Linked DNA regions of Homo sapiens: region 1 is linked to region 2. Evidence: promoter capture Hi-C in human tissues and cell types (Jung and others, 2019). All regions are on one chromosome and are shown on one strand. Each heading gives the region's core, a stretch centred on a gene start or on the middle of the fragment in contact. The rest is flanking DNA. Distances are from core to core; before and after follow the strand shown.

Region 1 (3,682 bases), core at 249-2,748, 61 kb before region 2:
TTCACATTTTTTATCCAGGAAGCATTAGTCTACAACTTTAAGTGTCCTAACTTAAATATCATAAACCATGTGAAGCACATGGTTGAATGCTTAGAGCTAAGGCTATAAAGCCAAAAATGTTTGAATTCAAATCCTGGGCCCACCAACCATGTGACTATGGGCTAGCACCATCACCATGTTCAATGGTGTACAACGGTGATTATAATACTACCTACCTAACAAAGTTGTTATGAAGATTAAATAAGATAATCTACCTTTGGCATTTCTATCTGACCATGGTACATTCTCAATAAACATTAGCTATTTTGCTATTGCTAGTATCATTTCTCAGTCGTAAGTATTTGCCAATAGTCACTAATAAGTGGAAGAGCCACAATTCCTCCCATATGATGTATTTTAACCACTACACACTCAAGTTAAGTCAGTGGTGTATTGCCATCTGTCACTTGGTGACACTGAGCAGAGGACTTAATGTCTCTGAAATTCACCCTCACAAGCATATACCTAGGAGTGAGTGTGAGATGGGAGAAGTAGACCTGCTGTTGGTCATTCTCAGTTTCCATGGGTCTCTCCTGGAAGCCTCTAATTATGCTAATGGACAAATTATGGGATTTGGACAATTTTAACAACATGCGATTTCTGACTTATGCACTGATGGTGGATTCTAAGTCTAACCTAAAGTCTGCTCCTCTATATTGCCACCCTTGTTGGGAGGAAGAACTCTCCCCTGTACCTTTTCTTTAGCTAGAAGAATGTGATGATGTTGCCAGCTATTTCAAGTAGTTTAGAAAGATGGAGCAGTGTACGACTCTGGAACTGCATCCATTCAAGCATTTATTGTGTACCTACTGTGTGTCAGGAACTATGCTGAATACAGCAAGTAGAAAATAATAACAAGGTTGTGATGATTAATTTTCTATGTCAACTTGACTGGGCCCCATGGTGCCCAGACTAAACATCATTTCTGGGTTTATCTGTGAAGGAATTTCTAGATGAGATTAATATTTGCATCAGTGGATCAAGTAAAGCAGACTGCCCTCCCCAGTGTGAGTGGGCACTATTCAATCCACTGAAGAACTGAATAGAATTCTTCTCTCCTTTTGCTTGACCGCTTAAGCTAGGACATCGATCTTCTCCTGGTGCCCAGGCCTTCAGTCTCAGATAGGGACTTGTACCACTGGCTTTCCTGGGCTAGTATACAGATGACGGACTGTAGGACTTCTCAGCCTCCATAATCAAATGAGCTAATTCCTTATTGCTCGCTCGCTCTCACATTCGTGTGTGTGTGTGTGTGTGTGTGTGTGTGTGTGTGTGTGTGTTTCTGTTTCTCTGGAGAACTGTGACTAATAAAGGGTCTAATAAGAGGGCATGGCACCTAGCAAGAGCAGACATTGATAAATACAGGAAGAAAGACACATAGTTCAGAGAATGCCAGAACAAAGATGAAGAAAGAAAACAGGAAAAAAAGTCATAGACTGTACTCTATACAAAGTTTTCAGGGAAAGATGCAGTATTAATCATGTTTCTATATACCAAATTAGCAAAAGTGGCTTTGTTTATATGTGTGGCAAGATAATAGCTCTTATTAGCAGACTAAAAAAAAAAACAATTTGAATTTTTATTTAAAATCCTGTTATCTGTTAAAATGTATTTAAATAATGTCCCAGAAAGCTTCTATTTAGCACTAAAAGCATGCTGAATCATAAGCAAGTTTTTAAAATGAATTGAAAGATACTGCTAAAGCATCCAGCAGAGAAGGGTTTAATGGGCATGTCAGGTCATTATTTTTAAGCTGGCAATAACCTAAGTCTACCCTGAACAGATTTATAATCTTATAAAGGAAGGCAGAATGGTCAAAGGAAGGTTCACTCGGCAGCAAGATCAAACTATACTGTAAGCCCTGAGGCAGTTTGCTCCTACAAGGCAAGGAACCAGTCTTTAAACATCTTTACATCCTCAGCATCTAGTCTCATACCCAGCACAAGTAAGCACTGGATAAATGTCTAATGGTGTCAACTCCCAACATATTTTCCTTCCCTGCTTTGCCACAAGGTAAAAATGCAAGGAATTCAGACAGATCATGGAAGGATTTTCTAGCTGTTCAAGTATATTTTTTAAAACGTCAAAAAGGCTATTTCTTTATAATCTTAGAGTTTCAGGGAAATACTTTTCTCAAAAAATGAAGAAAAGCAGGGCTGGGCATAGCAGCTCATACCCGTAATCCCAGCACTTTGGGACGCCAAGGTGGGAAGACTGCTTGAGCCCAGGAGTTCAAGACCAGTCTGGGCAACCTAGAGGTCTTGGCGCTACAAAAAAAAATTTTTTTAATCAGCCAGGTGTGGTGATGCACACCTGCTGTCCCAGCTACTCAGGAGGCTGGGGTGGGAAGATCATTTGAGCCCAGGAGGTCAAGGCTACAGTAAGCTATGATTGTGTCACTGCACTCCCGCCTAGGCAACAGAGTGAGACCCCGTCTCAAACAAAAAAAAAGACAGATAAATATAAGGTGAAAATCTGAAATTTCTTTGTGTCTAAAATATAAACAAAATGAAAATGAAACTAAGATATACAATTATTTTTGTCAATTAAAAATACATAGTGTTAAAAAGAAAAACAAAAAAATGAAATTAGGATAACTTCTTTAAAATATAGAGTTCTTTGGAATCTATTGTTCCTGGAAAGGAACAATCTCCAAGATAAATACTATTAAATGATTTAATATTTAAAAGGGGAATTAAACAAATTTATATACACACAAAATACTTCTAGAAGGAAATGCAAGAAGTAACAGATGTTGCCTTTGAGAAGAGTTGACAGTCTGGAGTGGAAGCTTTTTTTGCTACATATCTTCTTATATTGTTCAAGTTGTTTACTATGGGCATACATTACTCTTTTTAAAAATAAATCAAAGTAGCCAGGCGCGGTGGCTCATGCCTGTAATCCCAGCACTTTGGGAGGCCAAGGCAGGCGGTTCACGAGGTCAAGAGTTCGAGACCATCCTGGCCAACATGGTGAAATCCCGTCTCTACTAAAAACACAAAAATTAGCTGGGTGTGGTGGCATGCACCTGCAGTCCCAGTTACTAGGGAGGCTGAGGCAGGAGAATCATTTGAACCCGGGAGGCGGAGGTTGCAGTGAGCCACGATCGCACCACTGCACTCCAGCCTGGCAACAGAGCGAGGCTCCATCTCAAAAAATAATAATAAATAAATAAAAATAAATAAATAAATCAAAGCAGCAGGTTCTCTTGAGAGTTTATGAGTTAATGAATATCAAATGCTCAGCATAGTAAGCAATATATATATATTCCAATATTGTATTGCACAGAGTATGTATATATGCATACACATGTCTTTACAAATCAACATGAGGGAAAAAGAAAATACCCCAGAAACTAGACACAGAATATGAAATATTAATTCACAAAAAAAAATGGTAACAAATATACAGCACATTTTCAATTTCTCTAGTAATCAAATGCAAATAAAAATTGTTTTTGCCTTTCAGATTTGTAAATTTAAAAGGACCAACAAAATCCACTATCAAAAGGTTGAGGGGAAACAGGACATCTGATATGAGGCTATTGGTGATAATGTTAATCTGCACATGAGTATCCACTGGCCCAACAATTCCACCTCAAGGAATTTAACCTAAGGAAACACAGCAGCTGAAGAGGAGAACA
Region 2 (3,716 bases), core at 1,030-3,529:
GTCAAATGATCAGTAAGCAAACTTTTGATCATAATTTGCTTCTCCAGGATCGTCTGCCTACAGGACAGAAAAAAAGGTGCTAATCAAAAACATGTATTTGATTCACTTGGCAATTATCTTTTCCACTCTACACAGACAACATTCCTGGCTTTAGACTGCTTCTTGTTACTTTTAATTAACAGGAGCCAGTCCCTCAGAGCTCAGTCTACTCTGGAGGCACTGACAATTGAATTTCCCATTCTGCAAGCTGAGAACCAGATTTTCCTGGGGAAGTGCTTGCTGGGTCCTTGAAGCACCTTATGAACAACCCTCTGTCCCCCACCAGGAAACATCCTCTGCTTCAATGTCTGTCTTCTGCAAACTGCAATTAATTTTTATATAAACTGGCCACTTCCTGTCTGAAAAGAAGCAGGAATTTCTGGAAATTTATCTATGTGCATTTCCACCCTCCCCTTGCCTAGAGACATTTCAATAGCCCCTAAATTCCAACCTTTTGAAGCTATGACACACTATCATTGCATCCTTCATTATATGACAGTGTTTTTTTCCCCAAGAATTATGTATGACATATTTTTCTCTTTTTAATGGAAGTATATTAAACTTAAAGTTAATTTCTTTTGGAGCTTTTCAAGATCCCTGGGGTGCCACAAACCAAAACTGTGGATCACAATAGTATAATGGCAAAAAATGCTGGTTTTTAATCTGGGTGAATGCTAAAACAGGCGTTTATCATATTATTCTTTGCACTTTTTTTAAAGTTTGAAATAGTTCTTTTTTTTTTTTTTGAGATGGAGTTTTGCTCTTGTTGCCTACGCTGGCGTGCAGTGGTGCTATCTTGGCTCACCACAACCTCTGCCTCCCGAATTCAAGCGATTCTCCTGCCTCAGCCTCCCAAGTAGCTGGGATTACAGGCATGCACCACCACGCCCGGCTAATTTTGTATTTTTAGTAGAGACGGGGTTTCTCCATGTTGGTCAGGCTGGTCTCAAACTCCCAACCTCGGGTGATCCGCCCACCTCAGCCTCCCAAAGTGCTGGGATTACAGGCATGAGCCACAGAACCCAGCCGGTTGACTCTTTTAATATGGCCTTTTGAGTGGCCTACTGCAATGCTTTGCAAATAATAAGGACCTCCAAAAATATTTTTTGAAAAAAGTGAAATTGAGTGGATGAATACAAATCTTCATACAATTCTCTTTAACATATTTGAGACAGGCTGATAGGCAACTGCAGCACCTCACTAATAAGAACTCCATTAATCCAGTCCCTTATTTTTCTTTATGTTTAAGTAATAATAAAGTCTCCAAGAGAGCTAGCACAATGATGTAAACAAGTACTTTTGTTTTTATATATTACTTTTTTTTTTTTTTTTTTTTTGAGACAGGGTCTCACTCCGTCACCCAGGCTGGAGTGCAGTGGCGCAATAACAGCTCACTGCAGCTTCCACCTCCTGGGCTCAAGTTATCCTCCAGCCTCAGCCTCCCGAGTAGCTGGAACTACAGGTGCATGCTACCATGCCCAGCTAATTTTTTCTATTTTTTGTAGAAACAGGGGTCTCACTTTGTTGCCCAGGGTGGTCTCAAATTCCTGAGCTCAAGCCATCCTCCCGCCTCAGCATCCCAAAGTGCTGGGATTACAGGCACGAGCCACCACGCCCACTTCTATAAGACTTTGAATGTCCTATATAATCCTGAGATCTTGAATTAGGAAAATTGGATTTGATACAAAAGTTTCATTTTTAGAAGTTCCCTCAAAGTGGAGGGTTTTAAAATTAAAATGTCAAACAGATACCCAGTGAGAGCGTGCACACTGGCATCAGGAACGGATACCTTGGGCTGAGGCGTCGGGGTGGTATTCGGGCTCCTCCTCCGGGGGGCTCTGCAGGAAGTAGAGCTGCTCCGGCAGCATGCTGGCGATCTTCTCCTTCCCTAGGACGTGGGTACTCAGGAGAGGGCTGACGCTCCGTTTCACTTTCTCTCTCCTTTCATGGGCCATAATTTTTTTGGTCCGAGCCTTGATGTTCTCCCAGCACTTCTTCAGCTGTTTGAAATCCCGCAGGGACACGCTGGGCTGAGAGTTGTATTCGTGGGCCAGCGCCTGCCAGGTACGCTGCTTAAGGGCAATAGTTCGCGCATCACTTTTCTTACATTCCAGCACATATTTATACTTTTCTACTAAAGCCAGCAGGATGCTCTTTTCCAATTCTGAGAAGTATTTGGCAGGCTTTATAATTTCGTTGTTTTGCATTTTCCACTGTATTTCTCCTGGCCGCTAGCTATCCTGTAAAAGGAAGTTTGAAGCAATGATTACCAACTCCAGCAAAAACAATGCCTATAAATCACTGAAGCTTAATTCCTGACTTGATTCCCTTGTCTGAAATACAGTACTTTCTTTTCCATTAAGGTTGAATTATGATATTCAGGACTCTGGAGAATATTTAGAAATGTACTAGGAATGGGGTTTTATTTCAAAGTGGATTGTTGTGGCTATACTGTGACTATCTGGTATATAACAGCAAAAAAAGAAAAGTTGAACATTTTTTTTTTGAAACGGAGTCTCGCTCTTGTCACCCAGGCTGGAGTGCAGTGGCACGACCTGAGCTCACTGCAACCTCCACCTCCCGGGTTCAGGCAATTCTCCTGCCTCAGCCTCCTGAGTAGCTGGGATTACAGGTGCCTGTCACCACGCCCGGCTAATTTTTTTTTTGTAGTTTTGGTAGAGACAGGGTTTCACCATGTTGGGCAGGCTGGTCTCGAACTACTGACCTCAAGTGATCTGCCTGCCTCGGCCTCCCAAAGTGCTGGGATTACAGGCGTGAGCCACCACGCCCGGCCTAGACTCTGATTTGTTAATTGATTTTTCTTTAATATTAGGGAACTGATTATTCCCCCAAATCATGTTAGCCAGTTTTAGAACTAAACAGCTTTCCAAAACTTTTGTCACAGCTGAGGACAAAAGAAGCCACCGTGTACTCAAATATAAAATATGATGTGGGAGGCTGAGGCAGGCGGACCACGAGGTCAGGAGTTCCAGACCAGCCTGACCAGCATGGTGAAACCCCATCTCTACTAAAAATACAAAAATTAGCTGGGCGTGGTGGCGTGCGCCTGTAATCCCAGCTAGTCAGGAGGCTGAGGCAGGAGAACTACTTGAACCCGGGAGGTGGAGGTTGCAGTGAGCCAAGATCGTGCCACTGCAATCCAGCCTGGGTGACAGAGTGAGACTCCATCTCAAAAAAAAAAAAAAAAAAAAAAGATGTACAGCCGGGCACAGTGGCTCACACCTGTAATCCCAGCACTTTGGGAGGCTGAGGTAGGTAAATTGCTTGAGCCCAGGAGTTCGAGACTAGCATGGGCAACAAGGCAAAACCCTGTCTCTAAAAAAAAAAAAAAAAAAAAAAAAAAAGGGAAGAAAAAGAAGAAAAAAAAATAGCCAGGTGTGGTGGCATGCACCTGTAATCCCAGCTACTTGGGAGGCTGAGGTAGGAGGACTGCTTGAGCCCAGGAGGTCGAGGCTACAGTGAGCCATGTTTGCACCACCGCACTCCAGCCTGGATGACAAAGGAGACACTGTCTCAAAAAAAAAAAAAAAAAAATTTGACGTTTTCATCACTCTGTGGCATGTACCTGGAGCAATGGCAACCTCAGTTTTTTCATCTTTAAAATGAGGGGTTGGAGTCTGTGATCCTTCAGGTATGCGGGCTGTTTTTTAAAATCC

Evidence for each region. The method cuts DNA at HindIII sites, captures the fragments that hold promoters and counts their contacts. A contact is called where the count stands out against the background at its distance.
Region 1: a contact is called between a fragment that was not itself captured here and the fragment with the promoter of MSANTD3-TMEFF1 in region 2, in 2 of the 25 tissues and cell types used here (bladder and hippocampus).

Annotation. Positions count from the first base shown.
Region 1 is chr9:100,501,173-100,504,854 of GRCh38, reverse strand. The region is part of intron 2 of MSANTD3-TMEFF1 (MSANTD3-TMEFF1 readthrough); the gene reads right to left. The region is part of intron 2 of TMEFF1 (transmembrane protein with EGF like and two follistatin like domains 1); the gene reads right to left. Among named protein-coding and RNA genes, the nearest start is that of TMEFF1, 30 kb to the right of the region's middle. The HindIII fragment of the contact is 6,920 bases long and covers 1-3,682 here.
Region 2 is chr9:100,440,469-100,444,184 of GRCh38, reverse strand. MSANTD3-TMEFF1 (MSANTD3-TMEFF1 readthrough) reads right to left here and starts at 2,279. Exons shown (of 10, transcript NM_001198812.1): 1 at 1,829-2,279. The coding sequence starts at 2,246. MSANTD3 (Myb/SANT DNA binding domain containing 3) reads right to left here. Exons shown (of 3, transcript NM_080655.3): 2 at 1,829-2,279. The coding sequence starts at 2,246. The HindIII fragment of the contact is 6,684 bases long and covers 1-3,241 here.